Regions from separate parts of the Homo sapiens genome. Here all the other regions are linked to region 2. The links are contacts of gene promoters, found by promoter capture Hi-C in blood cells and fetal thymus (Javierre and others, 2016). All regions are on one chromosome and are shown on one strand. Each heading gives the region's core, a stretch centred on a gene start or on the middle of the fragment in contact. The rest is flanking DNA. Distances are from core to core; before and after follow the strand shown.

The links. The method cuts DNA at HindIII sites, captures the fragments that hold promoters and counts their contacts. A CHiCAGO score of 5 or more calls a contact.
Region 1: a contact is called between a fragment that was not itself captured here and the fragment with the promoter of TIAM1-AS1 in region 2, in 15 of 17 cell types (activated CD4 T cells, naive CD4 T cells, non-activated CD4 T cells and 12 more). The highest score is 28.1, in activated CD4 T cells.
Region 3: a fragment that was not itself captured here is called in contact with the fragment with the promoter of TIAM1-AS1 in region 2 in 2 of 17 cell types (monocytes and non-activated CD4 T cells); the score reaches 7.4 in monocytes.
Region 4: a fragment that was not itself captured here is called in contact with the fragment with the promoter of TIAM1-AS1 in region 2 in 14 of 17 cell types (fetal thymus, activated CD4 T cells, naive CD4 T cells and 11 more); the score reaches 24.0 in fetal thymus.
Region 5: a fragment that was not itself captured here is called in contact with the fragment with the promoter of TIAM1-AS1 in region 2 in 11 of 17 cell types (non-activated CD4 T cells, activated CD4 T cells, naive CD4 T cells and 8 more); the score reaches 21.0 in non-activated CD4 T cells.
Region 6: a fragment that was not itself captured here is called in contact with the fragment with the promoter of TIAM1-AS1 in region 2 in 9 of 17 cell types (non-activated CD4 T cells, naive CD4 T cells, activated CD4 T cells and 6 more); the score reaches 13.6 in non-activated CD4 T cells.
Region 7: a fragment that was not itself captured here is called in contact with the fragment with the promoter of TIAM1-AS1 in region 2 in 13 of 17 cell types (activated CD4 T cells, naive CD8 T cells, naive CD4 T cells and 10 more); the score reaches 26.8 in activated CD4 T cells.

The regions. Positions count from the first base shown.
Region 1 is chr21:31,228,585-31,232,724 of GRCh38, reverse strand. All of the region lies in intron 6 of TIAM1 (TIAM Rac1 associated GEF 1), which reads left to right. Among named protein-coding and RNA genes, the nearest start is that of TIAM1, 110 kb to the left of the region's middle. The HindIII fragment of the contact is 2,215 bases long and covers 1,019-3,233 here.
Region 2 is chr21:31,556,712-31,560,736 of GRCh38, reverse strand. It overlaps TIAM1-AS1 (TIAM1 antisense RNA 1), which reads right to left and starts at 1,504. Exons shown (of 2, transcript NR_171013.1): 1 at 1,142-1,504; 2 at 250-720. It also overlaps a transcript of TIAM1 not described here. RefSeq lists a silencer at 1,156-1,785 and enhancers at 1,065-1,877, 2,691-3,504. The HindIII fragment of the contact is 6,855 bases long and covers 1-4,025 here.
Region 3 is chr21:31,067,342-31,071,128 of GRCh38, reverse strand. No RefSeq gene overlaps it. Among named protein-coding and RNA genes, the nearest start is that of KRTAP19-8, 31 kb to the right of the region's middle. The HindIII fragment of the contact is 2,613 bases long and covers 1,226-3,787 here.
Region 4 is chr21:31,174,894-31,179,112 of GRCh38, reverse strand. All of the region lies in intron 15 of TIAM1 (TIAM Rac1 associated GEF 1), which reads left to right. Among named protein-coding and RNA genes, the nearest start is that of KRTAP19-8, 140 kb to the right of the region's middle. RefSeq lists a silencer at 2,787-3,081. The HindIII fragment of the contact is 6,195 bases long and covers 1-4,219 here.
Region 5 is chr21:31,104,339-31,108,123 of GRCh38, reverse strand. No RefSeq gene overlaps it. Among named protein-coding and RNA genes, the nearest start is that of KRTAP19-8, 68 kb to the right of the region's middle. The HindIII fragment of the contact is 8,257 bases long and covers 1-3,785 here.
Region 6 is chr21:31,085,887-31,089,711 of GRCh38, reverse strand. No RefSeq gene overlaps it. Among named protein-coding and RNA genes, the nearest start is that of KRTAP19-8, 49 kb to the right of the region's middle. The HindIII fragment of the contact is 6,028 bases long and covers 1-3,825 here.
Region 7 is chr21:31,255,708-31,259,431 of GRCh38, reverse strand. All of the region lies in intron 4 of TIAM1 (TIAM Rac1 associated GEF 1), which reads left to right. All of the region lies in intron 1 of LOC105372777 (a long non-coding RNA gene), which reads right to left. Among named protein-coding and RNA genes, the nearest start is that of TIAM1, 87 kb to the left of the region's middle. The HindIII fragment of the contact is 1,002 bases long and covers 1,008-2,009 here.

The DNA.
Region 1 (4,140 bases), core at 877-3,376, 330 kb after region 2:
TGTCCCTAACTAACCTTGCCCGGTTCAAGAAGGGGAGGCAAGGTTAGTGGCTTCGGATGGCTTTTTCTAGCATGTCAGAATTTAAATCCTGGAGAGACCTTGAGGAACAACATTGTGTCAGGTCAGGAGTCCACTGTGAGCAGTTGAGGTGTTAAGCCAGTAAATGGTCATGAAATGTTGCAAGACTTTTTCTCCACCCAACTAGCTTTTGAAAGCAGTCAGTGGAGAGTTCGTCTCCTCTTGTGGACACATAGCTCCCTGTGTGCCACTGCAAAGGGACAAACTGCAGAAAAGCTCATTTATTGAATTGTCCTTCTGAGAAATTGATTTGGCTTCATGATAGAGAATGGTAGGGACTGTTGCTTTATTTAGACAAGACAGTGGGAGCAAAAGTTCTCTCTAATGGAACTGCCTTCAGCCATTGACAGGTTTTTAAAAAGTTTGGGGGGCTGAGGCATACTTAATAGTTAAAAGGGCTGATGGCTAAATGTTTCATGCAGCTGTCATCACACATTTCTATATATGCTTCTCTAGGTTTTGGGGATTGTTATGCTTTTTTTATTTTATAATTATTTTTTCTTTTAAATTGAGGTACACCACACATAAAATTTACCATCTAGGCATTTTTAAGTGGACAGTTGAGTGACGTTAAGTACATTTACCCTGTTGTGCAACTATCACCATTATTCATCGCCAGAACTTTTTTTTTTTGTGAGATGGAGTTTCTCTCTGTTGCCCAGGGTAGAGTACTGTGGCATAATCTCAGCTCACTACAACCTCCGCCTCCCGGGTTCAAGCGATTTTGTGCCTCAGCCTCCCGAGTAGCTAGGACTACAGGCATGTGCCACCATGCCCAGCTAATTTTTGTATTGTTAGTAGAGACGGGGTTTCACCATGCTCAGGCTGGTCTCGAACTCCTGGCCTGAAGTGATTCGCCCACCTTGGCCTCCCAAAGTGCTGGGACTACAGGCATGAACCATTCCGCCTGGCCCATAACTCTTTTTCATCATGCAAAGCTTAAATGCGGTCCCCATTACATAACAACATTCCATATCCCCTTCACTCCGGCCCCTAGCAACCACTGTCTTTCTTTATAAGTTCCAGGATAGCTGCTTTGCCGAAATTAAATATATACCATTCAAAGGGTGTTTAACTTTGGTCAGCTTCCTTCGTTTTTCCTTCTTACGTGGAAGACAAACGTGAACTCTCTGACATCAGAATGGATTGTGTTGCTATTGGCTGAATTGGGCTGGGGTCCTCACAGGGGAAAGAAGACCCACTTTCATTAAATAAGGAGAGCAAAAGGCTGCAGTTCCACAGAACATATCAGATTATGGTCTTTCTTGGGGTTCCAAGTGCACTACACAGACTCCGTTATGTTTGAGGCATCCCCTGTTTTGCAGTGGAATTCTTACTTTGCTGGTAGATCAGTCAGGATGGATAGAATTAGGCTGAAGAAAGGAGCACTTAAATCTCAGCGGCTTAACATGCTTTCTCCTTCCTGGCATGATCGAGGCTGGCTCCAGAGCCGTACTCATCCTAGACTCTTATGGATCCAGGCAGACAGAAGCTCTATCTTGACACAGTGCTTCTGTGACCGTGGCAACGGGGCAAGAATGGGGCGAATCAGGCTTTTGTTGAGCAGTGATGTCACTTCTACTCACATTTTACTGGCCAAAGCCAAGTGCCATGGCCATGCCTGGCTTCAGAGGGGGCCAGAAAGTTCTATTCTCCCATATTCCTAGAATGAGAAGAGCTCAAAATATTGAATGGTCATGCCTGTAATCCCAGCACTTTGGGAGGCCGAGGCAGGGTGATCATCTGAGGTCGGGAGTTTAGGACCACCCTGGCCAACACGGTGAAACCCCTCTCTACTAAAAATACAAAAATTACCTGGGCTTGGTGGTGTACGCCTGTAATCCCAGCACTTTGGGAGGCTGAGGCTGGCGGATCACTTGAGGTCAGGAGTTCAAGACCAGACTGGCCAACATGGTGAAACCCTGTCTCTACTAAAAATACAAAAAACTAGCTGGGTGTGTGGCTCCCTAGTAGCCTGTAGTCCCAGCTAGGGACTAGGGAGGCTGAGGCAGGAGAACCACTTGAACCCAGGAGGCGGAGGTGGCAGTGAGCTGAGATCATGCCCAGGCACTCCAGCCTGGGCAACAGAGTGAGATTCTGTCTAAAAAATAATAATTATCGAATGGGTAATGCTTGTGACTCTGCAGCCTGGCTTTCAGAGCAATTAACAAGAGCTGGGGGTCAGGATCAGTATGTCATATTAAACAAGGAAAAAACAGAACCAAAACTTTTTTTTTTTTTAAGAACAGGGTTGGTGGAGATTGGGATTTATAATAAATGACTGTGTTCTTCCTAATTTTTCTGGGCTTTTTTCCTCCATCTGTGAAAAATGGTCATCTGAGTCCCTTCTGGATAAATATTTTTATTTAAATTCTTAAGTTCATAACATATATTCAGCCGAGCTTGCTGTCAGAAATTTCAGATCTTTCTATCCATTACTCAGGTATTATGTCAGGGTTGTAGGTATTTCCTTTTCTTACTCTGTGAGTTAGGGGGTGAGGGTAGGGGCTGGGAGGTTCTAACTGAGGCAGAGATGAGAGAGGTTTGCCTTGAAGATATGGATGTGGACCGCCCCTGAGCTTCCACCTGCCAGGTGTTTGTGCAGGAACCATAGCCTCTCCTTAGTGCTGCGTGCGCCTCTGCAGGGATTGCATCTGGATGCCCACACATTATCCTTTAAAAATGGGTGAAGATGGCCGGGCGCGGTAGCTCACGCTTGTAATCCCAGCAGTTTGGGAGGCCGAGGCGGGTGGATCACCTGAGGTCAGGAGTTCGAGACCAGCCTGGCCAACATGGAGAAACCTCATCTCTACTAAAAGTACAAAAATTAGCTGGGCATGGTGGCAGGTGCCTGTAATTCCAACTGCTCGGGAGGCTGAGGCAGGAGAATCTCTTGAACTTGGGAGGCGGAGGTTGCAGTGAGCCGAGATTGCACTGCTACTGCACTCCAGCCTGGGCAACAGAGAAAGATTCCATCTCAAAAAAAAAAGGGGGGGTGAAGACACGAACTCCCCTAAAATCTAAAAGCTCCTCATTTCCACTGAGCGATACAAACAAAATGGAAAGCATGTTTCGGGTCAAGGAACCAGCTTTTTATCAGGTACTACCAGGCACTTGGGAGGACAAAGAAATAAATGGTGGAGAAGGGTGAAGCTTTTTGGAACTTCCTTTGTAGTTTTGTAAGGACAGTTTTTAATGAAAACCGGAATATGAGGTATCATATTTTTAGCATAGTTATAGAAAAATTATACTCAAATATTAGGATAATATACCTTGGAAGGATGTTCTTTGAAACTTTCTATGATAGTTTAACGTATACACAGAAAAGGCACATTTTGATGGTGTTTAACAAACTGAACACACCCCTGTCATACACCAGCACCCAGCACCATGTAACTAGCACCCAGATGAAGAAACAGAAGGTGGCCAGCACTCCAGAAACCTTACTGTGCTTCTTACCAGATTCTACCCATTGCATCTCATCCCACCAAAAAAACCTGCCCTCTCAACTTCTAATACTGTATATTAGTTTATCTGTGTTGATACTTGATATGGTTTGGCTGTGCCCCCACCCAAATCTCATCTTGAATTGTAGTTCCCATAATCCCCACTTGTCGTGGGAGGGACCCATTGGAAGGTAATTGAATCATGGGGGCGGTTACCTCCATACTGTTCTTGTGAAAGTGAGTGAGTTCTCACTAGATCTGATGGTTTTATAAGGGGCTTTCCCCCCTGCTTTGTTCTGCACTTCTCCTCGCTGCCACCGTGAGAAGAAGGACGTGTTTGCTTCCCTTTCTGCCATGATTGTACGTTTCCTGAGGCCTCCTCAGCCATGCTGAACTGTGAGTCAATTAAACTTCTTTCCTTTATAAATTACCCAGTCTTGGATATGTCTTTGTTAGCAGCATGAGAATGGACTAATACAATACTTTATATAAATAGAATCCTACAGTATATACTGCAGTGCATCTGATTCCTTCCCCAACAAGATGTGTGCCCAGTTTATATGTGTTAATCTATAGTTATAGGTCCTTCATTCTTGCTGTATAGTATTTCATTGTG
Region 2 (4,025 bases), core at 255-2,754:
CTTCAGCCCCGTGTCATACAGGCCTGTGAGGGGAGCACAGGGGGTGGAAGCACTGGAAGTGGAAATGTGGCATCTAACCTTGACAGGGTACAGGAGGCTTCCCGGGGTCTGTAAGAGCAGTAGTTCAGCAATGCCTACTGCATGGATGCCTTGGCGGCCAAGCTGGGATCTGAAGAAGGGTAGGAATTAGTGAAGTGAAGGGAGGGGCTGGGGGTTGACGTGTTCTGGGGAAAGAAAAGAGACCCAGAGTTGGGAGCGCAAAATGAGATTTTTCTGCTTAGAAGGATCATTCTGCAAAGTGGAGAACAGATTTCAGGGGGCAAGGCCTGGGACAGAAGGACGATGGGAGCCCTTTACTGAGGTCCAGGTGAGACAGGATGGGAGGAATGGGTTTGGGAGGTTAACAAAAATGGATGGGAGAGGGTTAAGAAGAAGGAGGAATCAGGGATGACTTTCAATTTTCCGGTTTAGGTTTATCTTCCACAGCGTGGGCAATTCTTTTTGTTTTCAACAAGATCACCCCGGGAGCGCAGACCTTCCCAGCTCCCGGGGCGAACACGTGTGTATGGAATCAAGGTGTAAGGAACATACATCCCAGCCTTTGTTGTAAATGGGGAAGTCTAGAGCTCTTCAGGAGAGGAGGAAGCTCCGGCCTCGTGTAGGGAAAGGTTTCGCTCGAGGCTGTACCGCCAGCGTCTCCGTTTCCGCGTTCTCCACAACCTTGCGAGAGGTAAACTGCAACTGTAGTTTCCGGATTTTACAGAGGAGCCCAGGAGGTCTGCGTGAACCCTGCCCGAGTCACTTACTCTGCCCAGCAGGTAAGCGTAAGGCCCAAACCCCACGCTGTTATTCCAAGTTCGCTTGCTGGGCACGGTAAGTGAACCCTGGGAGTCCTGGACTCTGGTGAAGGCCACCATGCCCTACCTGGAGGCTGCTCAGGGTCTAACATCCTCTAGCATCCACGGGAAGGGATTGCGTTAGGATTTTTTTCTCTCGTAAAAAAGTTCCTGTCTCCCCCTAGAGCCAGGCACACGCCTCCCGCGCCAGACCACTTGTCCCAGGCACAACATTTTTTGACTCTTCGCCTCCCCCGTTTCGATCCCCCTTCCTCTCCGCCTTAGGTGGCAGGAAAATCCTTTACCTCCGACCAATCCCACCGATGCCGAGCCGCGCGCGCGCGCCAACTAGAGCTCCGTCTGTGCACGCCATTGGCCACCTCCACCTATGCGAGATGACAGGCAGCTTCGCGGACCTATCGCCGAGGGAGGCAGAGGCCTCCGGCCCTCCCAAAGCTGCTTTGTTAGGGGCTCCCTGGTCGTCCCCCGGCCCGCCGCGCCTCCGCTGCCTGCGGGCGATCTCCCCGGGCCGCGCTGACGGAGCCTCGCAGGAAGGCATCTCTGGAGCGCGCGCCGCCCGCGCCCCTCCAGCCGCGCGCTCCGAGCCTGGCTGCGGCGCGGATACCCGGCGTGCGCCCATAGTCGCTCTACAGCCCAACTCCGAACGCCCCGCTCCTGCATCCACCGCCTCGGATTGGCTGGCCGGAGGCGGAGCGATTGTCAGGCGGCCCAATCGGAGCTCGGTTTCCCACGGGCTCCCGCGGCCCGGCCCCCGAGGCCGCAGGCGGAGGGGCCCTGACAGCTCCGATTGGCAGACCACGAGCGGGTTCGAGCGCGGCCGGCAGAGCAGCGCCGCCGCCGTCGGGCGCGCAGCTCTGCAGCTCCGCGGACGCCTTGGCGCCCGCAGCCCCAGGGGCACGGCTGCCCCGCATCGTGCCCGGCCCCGTCGCGGAGATCCCGGACGACCGTCGCGGGTGAGTACCGCGGGCCTGGGGTGCGCGGGCGTCCGGCCGGAGCCGCCCCGGGAGACGGCGGCGAGGATGCCCGGAGCCTCGGTGCCCGTGCCGGGCACGTTCTGACCCCCGTCTCCCGCACACTGGGGCTCCCGGCGGGTCCTAGCTCCCCCCGATCGGGCTTTCCACGTATTGTTTTCGTGTTCACACACTTGGGAGGTGGGGAGATGCGGGGAGGAGAGGCAGGAGGAGGCATCCCTCGCGCGAAGGAGGGAGACGAGACCGTGCAGCCCAGGTGCCTTCGCTGGATGGAAATGACAGCGTCCGGACGTCGGCATTCGGTCCTCTCGGCAGCAGGAGGTCAGCGCTGACCTGCGGCGGCCGCGGCACTTTGTATTTTATCGGCTGATTTTTGTCAACTTCGGGGAGGGCGTGCTTGTGCATCCTTGTGTCTATGTTTGCGTCTCGGTCCCTGACTTAGGCACCTCCGGGCCTGGCTTTTCGGCGACGCGTCCTGGGCGCTCACCTTGGCGATCCGTGCCGCCCTCGGGGCCGGGCTCACCGGGCGGAAAGCCCGGGGGCCGGCGCACGGAGCTGGGGACCCGCGACGAACCCCCGGAGGGGGGCATTAAAAGCGGAATCCTGCGGGTGCGCAGACAATGCCTCATCCGGGCGGTCGGGTCCCGGGGACTGTGCCCTGGGTCCCCGCGCCCTATCCCGTCCCCGCCTCGCCCTCTCACCAGCTCTGCCGCTGCGATGCTGCTGCGCCGCGCCCCTCGCCACCCGGCTGGGGACCCGCGTGGGGCCCGCTTTTGTTTACAGACCTCGCCATTGGGCGAGAGCAGCGCGCCGTGCGCCCCCCAGCCCCGGCGGCTGCCGCTTGCCCCCTCGAAACCTGGAGAAGTTGTTGCGCGCTGTCAGGTGACGCCCCCTCCCCCCGGCCGCGGGGCGGGATGCTGCAGGGGAAAGATGCCGTCTCGGCGCCTTCGCGCCCAGCCCCCGCCGCGCACGGCGCCTCTAGGTCCCCTGCACCCGGGGGCGCCCGTGTCCCAGCCTGGGGTCCAGGCTGGCGGCCCTCGGGGCGCCGACTCGGCCACACTCACCCGGTTCCAGTCGTCGCGTCTCCTGGTCTTGCCCCCGGGTCAGCCCTGGTTGACTCGGAGCCTGCCTTTTCCCGCGCGCTGGCAGGTCTTGAAGGACGTGCGCGAGCCCTTGGGGACACTGTGCAGTCTGTGCCCGCCTCGGTGACACCCGCGCGGCCCCGCAGGGCAGCTGTGCCGCATCCCGAGTCAGAGCCGTCCGGATCGGGTTACCCATGCACGCTGACTTGGCGCATACTTTGAGTTGGAGCAGAGGTTTAGAGCCTGTGCGCTGAGGTCAAACAAACCCGGGTTCCAGTACCTGCTCGGTGTCACTCACAAGCTGGGTGATCCCGGCCGAGCTATTCTATCTTCCTGTGTCTCAGTTTGCGCATCTGTAAAGTGGGGATAAGGAATAACCTCTAGGGGGGCGGGGCTTAAACGACCATATAGATTAACCTCAAAGCACAGTGACAGCCACGTATGAAATATTAGAGTCCTGTTGATTCTGTGTTAGAGGAAATCTGTAATAGAGGATGGCCCCTTGTCGCTTTCCTTTTCTGCGTTCTTCACTCCCCCAGCCCCAATTTCTTTTTATTATAAAAGGCATGAAGGACTGCTGTTCTCAGCTTCAAACAGGACTTGTTTTACTTGGCCTTAGGTTTAATTAGATTTATCTAATCGCTTGCAGCCCTTTTAAAAATGTGTTTGAATTTCCATTAGGTTTTAGTTGTTTCTTCTTTCTTCTTCAAGATTCTGCTGGGACCCAGACCTGGGTTTGGAGAAGGAAAAACCCTTCCAGGTGGAAAGCAGTTGCCAGTGAACCAAGGACTGCTGTGGAAAGTGATTAAGTCCAGGAAGGAGGGAGGTTTGAACAAAGAGATGTCTGGAGGTTAGGAGGGAACACTTTCTAGGAGAGATGAAATTTAAGCTATGCCTTGTAGCTGAAGAAGTTTGGTAAATTGTTGGTTTCCAGCATATGCTTTTTTGTATCTCAAGGTAAAAAGCTGGGCTAGGGAGGGTGGATGCCTTTGCGTGGTAAACACCGACGTTGCTAAGTAATTATCTTTGAATAGAGGAGAAATAAAACTTAAGGAAGAGGCTGTTGACTAAGCAGGGAAGGTAGAAGAGAATCAATTTCATTGAATATCTTCAAA
Region 3 (3,787 bases), core at 1,283-3,782, 490 kb after region 2:
ATGGGAGGATATGGGATAGCACACAGAACCAAAGAAAAAGATAAATAAATAAGCAATAAGTGGGACAAGCATGTGGGCAGAGTGAGGAGAATAATGGACAGTGTCTGTGAGCATCACTTTTGGGATAAATCTGCTACAAATGTTTTCTGTCTTTGAAGTTTGCTGCACGATATTTGAATCCTTGTTGGGGACAGGGAGAATCCGACCTAGTTTATTGCCCCTGAATCAGGAAAGGGGAGGCATCCTAAATGACAACTCCATCAACACCACCAGCGAGGAGGAGGGTGATTTTCCACAGGAGGGCAAGATGTTGCCCCCAAATCAAGTGAGATGGGCTTTGGGCTCCTCATAACAATAGATGTCATCTCCAGGTAGCTAGAAGTTTTCTAATGCTTTCTAAGTGGGAGAAACAAATTTTTTTTCTATGCACTTTCAATATAAACATCAAAGCTTCCAAACAATTTTTGTCAAGACTTAAACATAGGGGCACTTGTAAACAGGGTAAGAAAAACTAAAGAAGAGGGAACAATTGGTAGAGGCTGCAGATGAATCTGAAGTCCCGTTTAGAGATTCATGACTTTATTTTCATTCTGAAATATTAAAGGTAAGTGATATACAACGATCTCAGAATTTCTAAGAGGAATTTATGTAAGATTGTACATAAAGTCAATAGAATATGGTACAGAAAATCTGGACTTTAGGAGGGGTTTATAAACTCAGATTTTTTTGTTTTTGCAATTCTTTCCTTCATAATATGGAAATAACCAAATCTCTTAGGGTTGTTTAAGATACCTGAAGCTCTTGGTATATATTAAGACTTAATAAATGCTAGCTTGCTTCTCTCCCACTGTGTGTTTATGTATATGTTCCTCTTTATGTATGAATCATATATACTAACGTAGTTTTCCTTTCCCTGTAATGAGCTGAAAACAAATGATCTTCTCCTCAATTCTATTTTTCTTCTTTGTAGCTGATGTTGGTAACAGGAGTATATAGCCAACAAGCTCGTCCCTATCCTGAGGTTCATATTACAAGATACAATCATTTTTCCCTTGGCGGTAGATGAGGCAATTTATATCTCTGGTTGTCTTAAGCATCTCCTACAGCAAATCAGCTATAGTTTAAAGTCAAAATGAAATCCTCCGTGGATTTGAATCATAGCTAGAAGCAAGACCATCAAGTTAGGAGTGCTTGATTGAGCAAAGTGGAAAAAACAAAAAAAGCTTACAACACCTAAATTACAACGAATGGTAGTAATATGTCATCCATGGCAACTTCAGTATTCTCAAATTTTTTTTATTTGCTCAACCAATTCCACATATTGAAATGGCTTGATGGGGTGAGTCTTCCTAATTTTTATTTTAAATGGGGCTGAAAGTAGAAACTGTTATAGAAATAAACAAGAAGCTGTTTAAGGAGACAACCAGAGGGAGAAGGCAGCAAATAATCTTGGAAGATATAGGAGAAAGAGCAAGTCATCTTGCAAAATATGGTAAGAAAAATCTACCATCCCCGCCCCAGCCCAAGGGAGAGAGTAAGCCAGGGTACCCAGAACATGGAAAAGGAGCTTCAAAGTCAACCAGAACAAAATTGGAATTCCAGCCTTGCCACTTTCTAGTTGCTGATCAACTTTAGAAACATGTCTTAGCCTCTTTGATTTTCATTGTTCTTATCTGTAGGATAAGGCTAAAAAATATCTCCATTTGCAGGACTCCTGTGAGGATGAATTGAGAATGTAAAGCACTTTGGAGTGGTTGGAACATACAAAACATTTGACAAATGATGTAGTGTTATTGTCTTAATATATTTAATACAATATATATTCTAAGATATATTGAAATATGCATGCATTAAGATTTGACCTGAAAAATGGGGAATTATGCTTTATTATGTGAAAGTTAATAATCTTACAATAATTATGAATAGTAATCATATTCTTTTTTTTTTTTTTTTGAGACAGAGTTTCACTCTTGTTGCCCAGGCTGGAGAGCAATGGCACGATCTCGGCTCACCGCAACCTCCGCCTCCCGAGTAGCTGGGATTACAGGGATGCGCCACCATGCTTGGCTAATTTTGTATTTTTAATAGAGATGGGGTTTCTCCGTGTTGGTCAGGCTGGTCTTGAACTCCTGACCTCAGGTGATCCACCTGACTGGGACTTCCAAAGTGCTGGGATTACAGGCGTGAGCCACTGTGCCCGACCCATACTAATTCTTACATAAAAATGCTGAAACTTGAGGGTGATACAGCATAAGAAAAAACATAGGTTTGGGGTCAGAAAGTTTTCAGTTTCTTCTGATTGGTGGCTGAGATGTTTGGATAAGTCACTATAACTTGCTGAATTTCAGTGTCTTTATCCATAGAGAGGGGATAATAACACTTACTTTTTAGAGTTTTGGGAGGATTATAAAACAACTAATGAATATTGCCTGGCATATGGTAAACAAAAGACACCTGTTCTCTTCCCTTTTTGGTATTATTCTGAGACTACTATATAATCCTACTATATCTCATAGTCACCTTAGAATACAGACAGAATATAGAGTCTCAAAATCTCACAGATAGCATATAATATATTGGAATCATCAAATATAAATATAAAATTGAACCTGGTGAATATTCAAACTCTGCTAACTGATGCATCAGGGCTTCTGATGTGTCAGAAGTAAGTAAGTAAGTTGCTAGGTAATTTCTGTAGTACTAGGCCTTTACTACCTTAGAACAGAGAGGCCATTCCTTTGAGGCAGTTTTAATTGTCAGAAAGTTCTTAATATTGAACTGAAATCTCCTCCTGGCAATTTCCCTTCAGTGGTTATAGTTCTAGATGCTGATCATATTCACATCACAGCCCTTTGTGTATTTTAAGTCTGCTGTCTTAGAACAGCACCTGGCCGATGGTAGGTATTCAGCAAATGTTTCCTCAGTGAATGAATGAGCGGATGAATGGGACAAGAAATGAGAACCATTTTACAGTGTGAGTGCTTTACTGCCTATGCTGAGAATGTTAGCACAATTTCTTTTGCACAAAATGGTAATATATTGTATCAGTCATGGTACAATAAAGACAGCAGAACCATTACGAGTTTTATAGAATAAGGGATTTATCATAGTAATAAAGCCTTATACCATTATGGAAGGGGCCGGAGAAGTATAGTTTACAAGGAGGGGTTGGAGGATCAGAGAAATGTCTATAACCGTGCCTTTTGAAATGCTAGTGCAAGTGGACAAGGGCAGAGTTCACAAAGGAATGTGGGAAGGCAGGGGCAGCAGCTGAGGAATGAAACTGGGAAGGAGCCTGGGAACCCTGTTGTTGCCTTTGCATCTGGTTATGGGCCTGGAAAGATTGTTGGCCCGTGTGTTCAGGCTCTCCAGAGAGAAAGAACCAGTAGGATCTATCTGCCTGCCTGCCTATCTATCTACCCATCTATCCGTATATCATCTATCTGTATATCATCTATCTATCTGTCTATCTCCATCTGTCTATCATCTGTTTATCATCTATCTATCCATCCATCCACCCATCTTTCTATCTATAGAATTGGCTCACGTGATTACGACGGCTGGGAAGTCTAAAATCTGCAGGGGGACTGGCAAGTCTGAGATCCTGGAGAGCTGATGGTGCAGATAAAGGCTGAAGGCAGTCTGTTGGAGAAGTTCCTCTTGCTCAGGGAGGCTGATCTTTTTGTTCAGTTCAGGCCTTTAACGTATTGGATGAGGCCCACCCACATTGTGGAAGGCAATCTACTTTACCTAATAGTTCACTGATTTAAATGTTAATTTCATCTCA
Region 4 (4,219 bases), core at 340-2,839, 380 kb after region 2:
GTGCGGCCACATTGCTTTATTTCTTAAAATTTTGTAGTTTTACAATCATCAAAAATCCTTCAGGCTGGGTGTGGTGGCTCACGCCTGTAATCCCAGCACTTTGGGAGGCCAGGGTGGGCGGATCACCTGAGGTCGGGAGTTCGAGACCAGCCTGACCAACATGGAGAAACCCCGTCTCTACTAAAAATACAAAATTAGCCAGGCATGGTGGCACATGCCTGTAATCCCAGCTACTAGGGAGGCTGAGGCGGCAGAATCGCTTGAACCCAGGAGGCAGAGGTTGCGGTGAGCCAAGATTGTGCCATTGCACTCCAGTCTGGGCAACAAGAGCGAAACTCCATCAAAAAAGAAAAATCCTCCAGAACAGAGTCTGCTTTGTCAAGTTAGGTAATCAGACTGACTCAGGAATAAAGCATGGAAGTAAAGCCACTGTATTGTTTTGTTGTTTTTGTTTTTGGTAAAGTTTCTAAACTGGCTTCAAAATTAGTAAATTTCAGAAGAATTCCTGGCCGGGCTCAGTGGCTCGCGCCTGTAATCCCAGCACTTCGGGAGGCCGAGGCAGGCAGATCACGAGGTCAGGAGATCGAGACCATCCTGGCTAACACAGTGAAACCCCGTCTCTACTAAAAATACAAAAAATTAGCTGGGCAAGGTGGCGGGTGCCTGTAGTCCCAGCTACTCGGCAGACTGAGGCAGGAGAATGGCGTGAACCCCGGGGGCAGAGCCTGCAGTGAGCCGAGATCACACCACTGCACTCCAGCCTGGGCGATAGCGAGACTCCGTCTCAAAAAAAAAAAAAAAAAAAAAAAGAATTCCTGAATACTTGGTCAAGTAGCAGCCCAATTGGACCTGCTGGTGGAGAGAAGGCATTTCACTTCCCCACCTGGGTCTCTGCCTATCTGCCTTCTGATTGCTTCTGCTTCCTAGTCCCCACTTAACAGTGGAAGATAAAAGTGGAGGCAAATAAACAGGATAAAATAACTGAAAGATTGCTCTGTGATGGGGCAGAGATAAAGCAGTATCAGCAGACCACTGCAGTTAAAATAGAAAACAACCGAGAAAATTTTGTACAACGGGCAGGATGGACTACAGCCTTAGTCTAAATTTAGAAGTAACAAAAATAGGAAACATCCTGAGTGGCAGGTTTGAGGTTTGATGGGAGTAAGTTAAGGTGGATGATTGGTGTCCTCGACAGAGAGCCTTGCTGGGTCTCAGGGACCTTGGGGTCCACGTGAGTGCTGGCTGCTACCTGGCTGCTGGAGGCTTGTCCTGCAGAGCTCCACAGTCTCACAAACTCAAGTGGTCAGACTTGGCCAGGTCCTCCCTTAAGGACCCTGAGTGAGTATGGGATTAGCTTTCAAAGTTGGATTATTTCTGAACTGCTTTCTCATAGAGAGGTTTGTTTCTTCTATGTAGAAGCATCACAGCCTAGTGGCGAAGATTAGGGCCTGGAACCAAGTTATTTGGAACTTAGTCCATTTCTTTGGAACTCAGTCATTGGTGGGGGGGACAGAGTCTCACTCTGTCACCCAGCCTGGAGTGCAGTGGCAGGATCTTGGCTCACTGCAACCTCTGCCTCCCAGGTTCAAGTGATTCTCCTGCCTCAGCCTCCCAAATAGCCGGGATTACAGGCATCCGCCACCACGCCCGGCTAAATTTTGTATTTTTAGTAGAGACAGGGTTTCACCATGTTGGCCAGGCTGGTCTCGAACTCCTGGCCTCAGGTGATCCACCTGCCTCACCCTCCGAAAGTGCAGGGATTATAGGCATGAGCCACCATGCCTGGCCAGAAATCAGTCCATTTCTATGTTCATCAGCTTCATGACCTTGACCTGGTCATGCTTAATCCCTCTGTGCCTCAGTGTCCTCACCTGCAAAATGGGGATAATGCCACACTGTCATCTCATTGGGCTGTTGTGAGGACCAAATGAGGCATAAAAGTAAAGCATTTAGAATATTACCCAGTAAGCGCTCAATAAATGTTTTGTACCTGAAGCCATTCTCTTATGGGGGACATGAGGATTCCCTGGCCTATGACCAGAGATTGCTCTTTTTCAGTATTCTCCCTGCCTTCTACGCCACCTCAGTCTGCAACAGGTGAATTACCTGATAACTAAGTTTGTGAATTACAGCTTGTTCATATTTTCCTTTCTCGAGTAGAAAGAACTGAATGCTGTAGTCTAGAATGCTGAGGTTCCTGGGCCCTTTTTCAGAGCTCATGAGTCACCTAGTGTGGGATGGGGTCTGGGTCTGCATTTGTTCCGGTGGTTGCTTCTAATGTCCAGCCCTGGTTGGGAGCCACTGCCTTAGGTCACCAACTCTTCCTGGTTACTGCTCCCTGTCCTTTTTCTTGTCTTGGTGGAATCATAAGATAATTGGAATTTTACGGTGACATGCAAACCTTCTATAGTTTCTTGATCACATTTTGTGATCTGCTTCATTGAGATTTTTTTGTAATGAAAATTTGTTAGGTGGTCCTGTAGTACATTCTCCATTCTCCCGTTCCTTGGTTTACGAGGGAAGCCTGCTGAATGGGTTGCCACGTTGGCTTAGAAAGCCAGGATCTGCATAAGGAGAGTCTATGCTGAGTGTTCTCTGTAAGACTCAGTTTCCTATCCTTGGCTGTTTGCCATCCCTGAGTTCTGGTTGCAGTCTTACTGGAGCTACTTTCATCTGTTTTGGTTTTTTTTTTAAGCATTTGTTTTCATACATATTGGTAGGAAAAAAAGGGAAGGATGTCTAGGACAAAAAGATAGTTCCTTCAGTGGCTGTTTTTATAAAAAGATCTTAGCAGTGAAGGGGAAGCTAGAATAGGAAGTTGCAGAACTGTATTTGTATGAGGTTTCAAAAAAGTCTCTCTTGTGTTCTTGTGTGATTTATTTTGAATACTGATCTTATCTAGCAATATTAACAATCTGGGCTAGGTAATGCTTTGCTGTGGGGAGCTGTCCTGTGTGTTGATGTTTAGCAGTACCCCTGCAAGCCACTACGAGACAATAGTACGCCACCTCCCCAAGTTGTGCCCATCAAACATATCTTCAGACATTGCCAAAAGGCCACTGGGCAGCCAAATCTTACCCAGTTGAGAACTACTGGCCTAATTTATTAAAAGGTATAGCTCTATCACCCTTTTAGGGAAATGTTGCAGGGAACATCAATATAGGAAAGCAAAGCAAATCTAGATGTAAAACAGTTCTTAAAAAAAAGTTTTATAGGCCGGGCGCAGTGGCTCACACCTGTCATCCCAGCACTTTGGGAGGCCGAGGCAGGTGGATCACCTAAGGTCAGGAGTTCCAGACCAGCCTGACCGACATGGTGGAACCCCGTCTCTACTAAACATACAAAAATTAGCTGGGCGTGGTGGCGGGCGCCTGTAATCCCAGCTGCTTGGGAGGCTGAGGCAGGAGACTCTCTTGAACCTGGGAGGCAGAGGTTGCTGTGAGCCAAGATCGTACCATTGCATTCCAGCCTGGGCGACAGAGGGAGACTCCGTCTCAAAAAAAAAAGTTTTATAAAGCATTTATTGAGAGAATTCCAACACAAATCCCCATTTATGGCCTTGTTTTTCCTTTTTACATCAAGAAGAAAGCCAAGAAAAAATAAATGGAATTATGTAACAGTAATTATGCAAAACCTCAGCTTTTATGCAAATTATAAGAATCATAGTTGAAGTGACACCATTAGTGTCTTTCCGAAGTTTCAAACGCCTGTTTCTCTCTCTCTTTGGGTTCACGTTCACTTTATTTTTGTGGTTTATACAGCTGTGCTGTGATTGTCCCTAGAATTCCACTTGACCAGTTGGGGCGAAGCAGGTGCCTTGGTTTACCTCAGTGAGTAGCCCACAGGATTACAATAAAAGTGCCAGAGGCCAAGCGTTCGTTGTGGCTCACACGTGTAATCCCACCACTTTGGGAGGCTGAGGCGGGAGGATTACTTGAGCTCAGGAGTTTGAGACCAGCTTGGGCAACATAGTGAGACCTTGTCTCTACTAAAAATTTAAAAATTAGCCAGGCGTGGTGGTGTGCACCGGTAGTCCCAGCTACTCAGGCAGCTGAAGCAGGAGGATCACTTGAGCACAGAAGGTTGAGGCTGCAGAGATCCTTGATCATACCACTACACACAGCCTGTGAGACAAGCAAGACCCTATCTCTAAAAAAGAAAGTAACAGGCTGGGCACGATGGCTCACGCCTGTAATCCCAGCACGTTGGGAGGCTGAGG
Region 5 (3,785 bases), core at 475-2,974, 450 kb after region 2:
TCACAGGCTGTACAGGAAGCATGGACAATCATGGTGGAAGGCAAAGGGGAAGCCAGCTGGAGCAGGAGGAAGAGAGCAAAAGGAGAAGTGATACACACTGTTTTTTTGTTTTGTTTTTTTGAGATGAAGTCTCAATACAGAGGGGAAGAGTAAGAAAGGAAATGGGTAACAAGCAGAGGTTGGAACAGTTTGGAGGGCTCAGAAAATAGAAAAATGTGGGAAAGTTTGGAACTTCCTAGGGATTTGGAGGGCTCAGAAGACAGAAAGATGTGGGAAAGTTTGGAACTTCCTAGAAACTTGTTGAATGGCCTTGACCAAAATGCTGACAGTGATATGGACCATAAAGTCTAGGCTGAGGTGGTTTCAGATGGAGATGTGGAACTTGTTGAGAACTGGAGCAAAGGTGACTCTTGTTATACTTTAGCAAAGAGACTGGCAGCATTTTGCTACAGCCCTAGAGATCTGTGGAACTTTGAACTAGAGAGAGATGATTTAGGATATCTGGCGGAAGAAATTACTAAGTGGCAAAGCATTCAAGAGGAAGCAGAGCATAAACATTTGGAAAATTTGCAGCCTAATGAGGCAACAGAAAAGAAAAATGCATTTTCTAGGGAGAAATTCAAGCCTGTTGCAGAAATTTGCATAAGTAACAAGGAGCCGAATGTTAATCACCAAAAAACAATGGGGAAAATATCTCCAGAGCATGTCAGAGACCTTCACAGCAGTACCACCCATCACAGGCCTGAGGCCTAGGAGGGAAAAATGGTTTTCTGGGCCAGGTCCAGGGCTCCCCTGCTGAGTGCAGCCTAGGGACTTGGTGCCCTGTTTTGTCCTAGCTGGTCTAGCCATAGCTAAAAGGGGCCAAGGAACAGCTCAGACTGTGGCTTCAGAGGGTGCAAACCCCAAGCCTTGGCAGCTTCCACGTGGTGTTGAGCCTACGGGTGCACAGAAGTCAAGAATTGAGGTTTGGGAACTTCTGCCTAGATTTCAGAGGATGTATGGAAATACCTGGATGTCCAGGCAGAAGTTTCCGGCAGGGGCAGGGCCCTCATGGAGAACCTCTGCTAGGGCAGTGTGGAAGAGAAATGTGGGGTGGGAGCCCCCACACAGAGTCCCCACTGGGGCACTGCCTAGTGAAACTGTGAAAAGGGGGCCACCATCCTCCAGACCCCAGAATGGTAGATCAACTGACAGCTTGCACCGTGTACCTGGAAAAGCTGCAGACACTTAATGCCAGGCCTTGAAAGCAGCTGGGAGGTGGGCTATACCCTGCAAAGCCACAGGGGTGGAGCTGTCCAAGGCCATGGGAGCCCACCTCTTGCATCAGCATGACCTGGATGTGAGAAATGGAGTCAAAAGGGATCATTTTGGAACTTTAAGGTTTAATGACTGACCTATTGGATTTTGGACTTCATGGGGCCTGTAACCCCTTTGTTTTGGGCAGTTTCTCCCATTTGGAGCAGGTATATTTACCCATTGCCTGTACCTTCATTGTATCTAGGAAGTAACTAACTTGCTTTTGATTTTACAGGCTCTTAAGTGAAGGGACTTGCCTTGTCTCAGATGAGACTTTGGAATGTGGACTTTTGAGTTAATGCTGTAATGAGTTAAGACTTTGGACGACTGCTGGGAAGGCACAATTGGTTTTGAAATGTGAGGACATGAGATTTGGGAAGGGCCAGGAGTGGAATGATATGGTTTGCCTGTGTTCCCACCCAAATCTCATCTTGAATTGTAGCTCCCATAATTCCTACATGTTTTGGGAGAGACCTGGTGGGAGGTAATTGTATCAGGAGGGTGGGTTTTTCCTGTGCTGTTCTGATAATAGTGAATAAATCTCATGAGATCTGATGGTTTTATATAGGGCAGTTCCCCTGCACATGCCTTCTTGCCTGTCACCGTGTAAGATGTGCCTCTATTCTTCCTTAGCCTTCCACCATGATTGTGAGGCCTCTCCAGCCATGTGGAACTGTGAGTCCATGAAACCTCTTTTTCTTTATAAATTACCCAGTCTCAGGTATTTCTTCATAGCAGTATGAAAATGGACTAATATAAGTTTCAACATGAATTTGAGAAGGGGGCACATTCAAACCACAGCAGATGGGTAAAGATGCTTCACGTGTGGCCGAACTCACCAACACACTAAGACAATCTTAGTGACTGCTATGACTTGAATGTGTTCCCCAAAAAGTATGTGTTGGAAAATTAATCCCCAATGCAACAGACTCTGGAGGTGGGGCTTAGTTGGAGTTTACAAGTTTGAACTTGTTGGGGCTCAGAAAGCAATACCTCACAATATGGCATTTCTGCCATGCTGAAATGAAGAAGCCTCAAGGTCTCTGACCACCTATCCCCAAGAGCTCTCCCAAACAAACTGAAGTTCCTTTATCTGCCTAAGATACAAACTGATATAGGTTGGCTGTGTCCCCACCCAAATCTCATCTTGAATTATAGCTCCCATAATCCCCATGTGTTGTGGGAGGTAATTGAATCATGGGTGCAGGTTTTCCCATGCTGTTCTTGCAATAGTGAATAAGTCTCATGAGATCTGATGGTTTATGAAGGGCAGTTCCCCTGCACATGCCCTCTTGCCTGCCACCATGTTAGACGTGACTCTGCTCTCTTCCTTCACTTCTGCCATGATTGGGAGGTCTCTCCAGCCATGTGGAACCGTGAATCCATTAAACCTCTTTCCTTTATAAATTACCCAGTCTTGGGTATGTCTTTTATTAGCAGCCTGAGAACAGACGAATCAGACTAATACACAGAGCTACCAAGGAGAATAATGACTCTTTCTTTCTCTTCCTGTTGTCTCATTATCTGTTGCAGAAAAGAAAACTAAGATGTGACCACACCAGAGCAGAACTTTTATAAGTATAATGGCTGTTTCCAAGTCCATTTAAATTCCAAAGAAAACTATTTACAATTTCATCTCTGTTCTCCACCCAATCATCCTCCCTAGCAATCACTTATTGCCGCTCAATAGAATTCCTCTTCTCCCCTCTCCCATAACCTGTTTTACAAGAATCCAAGCCCCCATTCTTTCTGTAACATAAAAATGGTACATAAATTTCTGTAACTCACTGGAAATTTGGGTCTTCATTCTGAAGGCTCCTATGTGTACATGTTACATAAATTTGTATGCTCTTTTTCCGTTCCTCAATCTGCCTCATGCCAGTGATTTCTCAGTGAATGTTTAGGCAGCTAACAGCCATGGATCCTCACAATCTCTTACTCTTTCTCCCTCTTTCTCTCTGTCTTTCTCTCACCCTCTCTTTTTTCCGCACCATGGCATGATGCAGCAAGAAAGCCTTGGCCAGATGCTAGCTCCTCAATCTTGGACTTTCCAGCCTCTGGGTGAGGTGTCAGAGCCCCAGCAATGAGAGTGGTTGGCTTGTGGGGTGATATGGTTTGGCTCTGTCTCCCCACCCAAATCTCACCTTGAATTGTAATAATGCCCATGTGTCATAGGAGGAACCTTCTGGGAGATAATTGAATCTTGGGGGTGCATTTTTCCCATGCTGTCCTCATGATTGAAAATAAGTCTCACAAGTTCTGATGGTTTTACAAAGCGTAGTTCCCCTGCACATGCTCTCTCTTGCCTGCCGCCAAGTAAGATGTGACTTTGCTCCTCATTCACCTTGTGTCATGATTGTGAGGCCTCCCCAGCCATGTGGAACTGTGAGTCAATTAAACCTCTTCCTTTTATAAATTACCCAGTCTCCTGTATGTCTTTATTAACAGTATAAGAACAGACTAATACACGGGGGTAAAAGAATATACCA
Region 6 (3,825 bases), core at 911-3,410, 470 kb after region 2:
GGAGCTGGGAGAGAGGAAAGGAGGAGTTACTGCTTAATGGGTAGGAAGTTTGTGTTTGGAGTGAGGAAAAGGTGGTTGCCAAGGGTAGGGGGAAGGAAAACAAAGTTGTTTAATGGATACAGAGTTTCAGTTTTGCACAATGAAAAATCCCGTCAGCAACTGTTGGCAAGGGTGTGGGGAAATTGGAACCCTTGTGGCTTGCTTGTGGGAATGTAAAATGGTACACCTGATGTGGAATAGACTATGGTGGTGGTTCCAAAAAAAAAAAATAAATAAAAAAAAATATATATATACACACACACAAATACATTAAGCATAGCTGGGTGTGGTAGCTCATGTCGGTAATACAAACTACTTGGGAGGCTGAGAAGAGGATTGCTTCAATCCAGGAGTTGGAGACCAGCTTGTGCAAGATAGGGAGACTCTATTAAAAAAATGAAAAAAAATGAAACATGGAATGTACCGTATGCTCTGGGTATACATACAAAAGAACCGAAAGCAGGGACCTGAATAGTTACTTGTGCAACAATGCTTATTATTCACAATAGCCAAAAGGTGGTAATTACTCAGTGTCTGTCAACAGATGAACGGCTAAACAAACTGTATATCTATGTAAGGAAGTATTATTCAGCAAGAAAAAGGAATAAAGTTTTTTTTTTTTTTTTCTGAGACAGGGTCTTGCTCTGTCGCCCAGGCTGGAGCTCACTGCAACCTCTGCCTCCCAGGTTCAGCGATTCTCCTGTTTCAGCCTCCCAAGTACCTGGGATTACAGGTGTGGCCCACCACACCTGACTGATTTTTGTATTTTTGGTAGAGACGGGGTTTCACCATGCTGGCCAGGCTGGTCTTGAACTCCTGACCTCAGGTGATTCGCCCGCCTCGGCCTCCCAAAGTGCTAGGATTACAGGCGTGAACCACTGCACCCCATGTAATAAAGTTTTGATGCATGCTACTGAGAGGTGGCAACTGCTAGCAGCCCTCGCTCGCTCTTGGCGCCTCCTCGGCCTTGGCCTCCGCTCTGTCCCTGCTCCAAGAGCCCTTCACCCCGCTGCTTCGCTGTGGGGGCCCCTCTCTGGGGCTGGCCGAGGCCAGAGCCGGCTCCCTCTGCTGGCGGGGAGGTGTGGAGGAAGAGGCGCGGGCGGGAGCCGGGGCTGCGCACGGCGCTCGCAGGCCGGCACGGTTCCAGGTGGGCGCGGGCTCGGCGGGCTCTGCGCTTGGCGCGGCCGGCAGGTGTCCGCTGGGCTTGATCCGGAACGAGCTCCGTCCGGGCTGCGGGAGTGCCCAGGCTAGGTGCCGCAAAGACCCATGGGAGTGCCAGAGAGAGGTGAAGCCGGCTGGGCTTGTAGGCGGGGTGGGGACTTGGAGAACTTTTCCGTCTAGCTGAAGGATTGTAAATGCACCAATCAGCACTTGTGTCTAGCTAAAGGTTTGTAAACGCACCAATCATTGCTCTGTGTCTGGCTAATCGGGTGGGGACTTGGGGAACTTTTGTGTCTAGCTAAAGGATTGTAAACGCACCAATCAGCACTCTGTGTCTAGTTAAAGATTTGTAAGCGCACCAATCAGCACTCGGTCAAAACAGACCGAACAGCTCTCTGTAGAACGGACCAATCAGCTCTCTGTAAAATGGGCCAATCAGCAGGATGTGGGTGGGACCAAATGAGGGAATAAAAGCAGGCCACCCGAACCGCTGAGGTTCCTTTCCATGCTGTGGAGGATTTGTTCTTTTGCTGTTTGTAATAAATCTTGCTGCAGCTAACTTTTTGGGTCTGCGCCGCTTTTATGAGCTGTAATACTCACCGCGAAGGTCTGCAGCTTCACTCCTGAGGCCAGCAAGACCATGAACCCACCGGAAGGAACGAAACTCCAGACGTGCAGCCTTTAAGAGCTGTAACACTCACCGTGAAGGTCTGCAGCTTCGCTCCTGAAGTCAGCGAGACCACGAAACCACCAGAAGGAACAAACTCCAGACACACCATCTTTAAGAACTGTAACACTCACCGCGGGGGTCTGCTGCTTCATTCTTGAAGTCAGTGAGACGAAGAAGCCACCAATTCCGGACGCACTACAACATGAATGAATCTCAAAAATATTATGGTAAGTGATATAAACCAGACACAAAAGGACAAATATTGCATAATCCTAGTTACATGAAATATATAAAACAGGCAAATTCATAGAGATAGAAAGTAGATTAGAAGTTACCAGCAATGAGAGGAGGAGGAGGGGAGGAGGAATTATTTCTTAACGGATACAAAGTTTCTATTTGGAGTGATGAAAAAGTTTTGGAAATGGATAGTGGTGATGGTTGGACGATATTGTGAATATAATTGATGCCACTGAAATGTACACTTACAAATGGTTAGAATGGCAAATTATATCTTACCAAATATCACGTTTTACCGCAATAAAAGTTATAAAGACGATCTTTGCTTTTATAAATGAGTAAAACAAAAAAAAATACACAAACATTAGACATACAATTCAGTGAGCTACGAGCTATATTGGACTCAGTGGTAGCAACAGGAAGGGGCCCTGACGTTGTCAAAATTTTTCCTACATGCTTAGTGCTTTGTGTGTGCTTTCACTGCATCTGCAGAGAAGCCCTGAGAGGTGCTATGGGGCCTATTTTACAGATGGAAAAACAGGGCAAGTCCTGGTCCAAAGTTATGCAGCTCTATGAATCCAGCATTCAAATCTAGGTCTATCTGGCTCCGAATGGAGTACAAGCAGACCAGTAGTGACCATTTTGGGAAAATTGTTTCACCCTGGAGGATAATTTTCAACTTTTACTTAATTTAACTAGGGAAGATCACTGTGAGGGAGAATAGATTAAATGTGAGCAAGATCCTATCCAACTCTAATTTCTCATAGGATTTTTGCTGGAACTCATCACCCTCAGAACACTGATTTTGGGTTGAGTTTTCTAGTTTATACGGTTTTAGTGCACAACGGCAGATTTGGTAAATGTTGAATACAGTTCTTTTCCAATGTAATAATCCATCCATTTTCATAGTTTAAAATTGACTTTGGTAAGAAACAGAAGTTCTTGAATTTCCTGCCTGTGACCAGAGGAGGCCGCTGTTTCACTATGAATGTTTTTAGAGTCAAACGCAAACTCAAGCATATTGCTGGGTCCCAAAATTATCGTTCTTATTTTCATTCTCTCTCTCTCTCTCTCTCTCTCTCTCTCTCTCTCTCTCTCTCTCTCTCTCTCTTCCTCCCTCCTCTCTGGCCTTTCCTCCTTTCCTTTCCCTTTTTTTTATTTCCTTCTCCTGTTATTATTTCAATAAGTCAGCTCAGATGTGATAACAGGAAGGGGATGTTTCTCTTCTTCACATTCTTTGAACATTTATCCACCTCTTCCCAGACAAATAACTGTTTCCTTTATTTTATTTATTTATCTTTTTGAGACGGAGTCTTGCTCTGCCGCCCAGGCTGGAGTGCAATGGCGCGATCTTGGCTCACTGCAACCTCCACCTCCTGGATTCAAGCCATTCTTCTGCCTCAGTCTCCCGAGTAGTTGGGAGCACAGGCACCCACCACCACGGCTGGTTAATTTTTGTATTTTTAGTAGAGACTGGGGTTTGCCACATTGGTCAGGGTGGTCCCGAACTCCTGACCTCAGGTGATCCGCCTGTTTCGGCCTCCCAAAGTGCTGGGATTACAGGCGTGAGCCACCGCGCCTGGCCACCGTTTCCTTTAATAACAAACTTTCCAAGAAAATGGACCAAATGGAAAAGATACTTTTCCTTCCCCTTTACTATTTTTAAGGATGGAAATGGACTTTCATTTTTGGGTGTAGATTAACAGTTGAACAGTCAC
Region 7 (3,724 bases), core at 259-2,758, 300 kb after region 2:
GGTGCATTGGCTCATGCCTATAATCCCAGCATTTTGGGAGGCCGAGGTGGGAGGATCGCTTGAGCTCAGGAGTTCAAGACCAGCCCGGCCAACATAGTGAGACCTTGTCTCTACCAAATTTCAAAAAAATTAGCCAGGTGTGGTGGTGTGTGCCTGTAGTCTCAGTTTCGTAGTGGGCTGAGGTGAGAGGATGCTTCAGCCTGGGAGGTTGAGGCTGCAGCAAGCTATGATCATGTCACTGTATTCCACCAGCCTGCATGACAGAATGAGACCCTGTCTCAAAAAAGAAAAAGGAAAAAAAAAAAGAAGATCACATTCCTAGTATAAGAATAGAGGAAAGTTGAGCCCCTTGACTCAAATTGTGTCATAACAATGTGTAATCATTGTTTTTTTACAGCATAACTGTAAATGTGTGACTGTTGGATGTGGCCATAAAGCCAGCCTGCCCTAAAGGCCTGACAGGGTCTCCATGGATCCCAATGGAGAACTTAGGAAACACCTGACCAGCCTGTCACATTGTCATTTGGGCCCAGTTGGCTTTGGACCACCAGTTGACCGAGTATCTAGCTTGGGCCATAAGATAGTTCAATATATCTTTCTGGTTTTTTTTTTTTTTTTGAGACGGAGTCTCACTCTGTCGCCAGGCTGGAGTGCAGTGGTGCAATCTCAGCTCACTGCAACCTCCGCCTCCCGGGTTCAAGTGATTCTCCTGCCTCAGCCTCCGGAGTAGCTGGGACTACAGGTGCATTAATATTTGTATTTTTAGTAGAGACGGGGTTTCACTGTGTTGGCCAGGATGGTCTAGATCTCTTGACTTCGTGATCCACCCGCCTTGGCCTCCCAAAGTGCTGGGATTACAGGCATGAGCCACTGCGTCCAGCCTAATATATCTTTCTTACTTCCTCAATTTTTTAAAAGAGTTAAAGAACAAAAATTTAAGTGAACTCCGATTGCATCCACACAAGACATAATCCAACTAGGCTGCTTAAAGCCTATAAATGTAAGCTTTATAGCTAGGACTCATTTGTCACCTCAACTTTAGTTGAGCATGAGCTGAGTTTAGAAATGACAAAACCTTTAACTCCAGCTGCAGTGCATTCCATGAGAAACTGTTTTCCTTGTTTTGAGATTGTGGTGGAAAATGAGCAGCAGTGAGTTCATTCAGCAATTATTTTTGAAGTGCCTTCCCCATGCCAGGCTTTATTCTTGGCACTTGGGATGCGTCAACAAGGAAAGATCCACAAGCTCGTGGAGCTCGTTGGGGTGAAGTGGGTGTGTGTGTGGCAGAAAACAGTTAGCATAATAAGGAAGCGATGTGCTGTGGAAGAAAGACAGGGCATGTTGAGGAAGATGGGGTGTGGGGGATGTGGGGGGCAATTTCTGACAGGGTGGTCAGGGTGAGGGCAGACCTGGATAGGGACTTGGAAGGAGAGGAGGGGAGGAGGGAGCTGGCTCCTGAGTTGCAATGTGGGAGGGTGCCCAGCACATTCGAGCAAGGAGGAGGAGCTCAGGGTGGCTGGGGTGGGGTGGAGGTGGGAGAGGAGATGCTGTGGAGAGGTTGGCATGGTAGTTGGAGGAAGCACAGAGAAGCCTTCTGGTTGTAGTAAAAGGGGGGACGTGAGTATTCTTGGGAGTGAGAAAGGTTGGGAGTATGCCCTGGAATGAGTTCTTCAATTTCACTAGTGGGTGGGGACATCGAAGCTCAAGTTTTAACGCGGGACACCGGGGGAGGGTCTTGAACAGCAGTCTGAGGAGTCCTCCACATTGCTCCTGGAACATTTACCTGGCAGTGGTGTGCCGGATGGATTGATGGAAGGAAGATGGGTTAGAAGAGAGAGCTTATTGCTCAACCAGTGATGTGGCACTCGGAGGGGAAGAGAAAAAACTGAGTCTCTGATATATTATGGATAGTGAGGAGGGAGGGGAGGGATGACTGTAAGGTATAAGCACATACATAGAAAAGCAGATGAAAGGAGAGGCAATGATTCATTTAACTTAGACATAAAGCTTCTCCAATCAGGAGTTACCTGAAGGAACATTTCAAGCTTTTGCCAACTTACTTTGGAATCCCTTTTTAGTAACAGTAGGAATTTTGGTTCCAATGCTTGTAGCTGAAATTGTGAGTCACTCCCATTGGAAATCGTTAGAAGAAAAGGAATGGGTTGTTGGAAACATAAAAAGAAAGGCATAGAGATTTTGCCCTAAGAAAGGAAGGGGAGGGAAAATAGAGTTGATTTCCTATTCTGGCAAATCAGGGATGGCAATTATTAGTATTTCATAATAGTGACCAGTAGTTACTAATTTATAATGTAGAGAACGTCACCATTTTCCTAGTTTAGTGTGCTGTTTTGTGAACGTGAGAACAATTAACAAGCCTAATTAGTATTAGGCTGGCACCAGCCTTGGTATGCCTGTGTTTTTCCCAGGTTTCTCAGAGACCTTTCTTCCATGTTGGTGCAGGAAGTTAGCAACTGAGTTCAGGCAATGCCTTCTCTCCTTGGGCCAAGATGTAAGTAGGGCTGAAGGTAGAGATGACCGTAATTATAGTTAACATTTTTGAGCAGGTACTATGTGCTGGGCTCAGTTTAAGACACTTTTCCTGGGTTAACTCAATCTCACAGTGTCTTATACAGTGTCTTACAAAGTAGATGTGTTGCTCTCCCCATTATACATATCAAGAAATTGAGGCATGGATTGGTTCAGAGTCATTTACCTAGAATTGATACTTGCTGTACTGAGATTATCAAAGGAGAGTATACTGAGAATACCAAGGAGATAATACTGAGAGCCAAAGATAATATACGTGTGTGTGTGTGTGTGTGTGTGTGTGTGTGTGTGTGTGTAGTGAGGGGTACTTAATATTTTGGGGTTAGGAAGAAGATGATAAATCAGAGGAAGGACATGTTAGAATTTAACAAGCCAGAAACAGTTCTAATTCAGGGTTTCTGTAGGTCCACATTTCTTTACCCCCTGGAATTCAGTGAATTCTGCATTGTAGTTAGCATCTTAACACAGGTGTATTCAAGCTGGATCTATCAGGGAAATTCAAGTGACAAAGGAAACAGTATCTAATTGCATTCGACTTATAACTTAACTACAAGTGGCCAATTGATTCTACTGGTCCTGGAATTGTCCCAGAGCCTTTGCACTTTCTGGCTAATTGCATTTTCAAAATTGTGTTCGCACATCATTAGCACAGAAAACCTCTCCCTTTGGTAGTATTTGAAGTCTCCTGTCAAAACAACTGGAGCCTTACCACAATGTGTCATTAGTCTACATTCATGCTGCGTGACCCTCCAGTTTTCAAGGCAGTGAAAACAGGCTTTGAATTTGCCTCTTGCCTCCCTCATTTTAGCCTGGGAGCTCATTTAAGCATTTGTTGCCCAGCTCAAATGCTAAGAAAACTCTTGCCCACAGCTGTTGTATGTATTAGGCTACAGCTGGCCACTTGTGCATACATTCATTTTTTGGGGAAGCTGCCAGTGGAATGGCAACTGGTGAGTGCCCTGAAAATCTGGCTTCAGAGAATTTGTCCTGGGAGAACAGGATTGAAGAGCCTCTCGGCCCTGTGAATGTTGTTCATGATCGGAAATCTCTTCAACGGAGTGGTTCTAACATGGAGAGTTTATTTTGAGCTGTTTTCTGGAAGTCTCAGCTAGATCATGAACCATGTTTAGAATTATTTCTCTGTCTAGCCAGGATCTTACCATCTCCCTTGATGTCC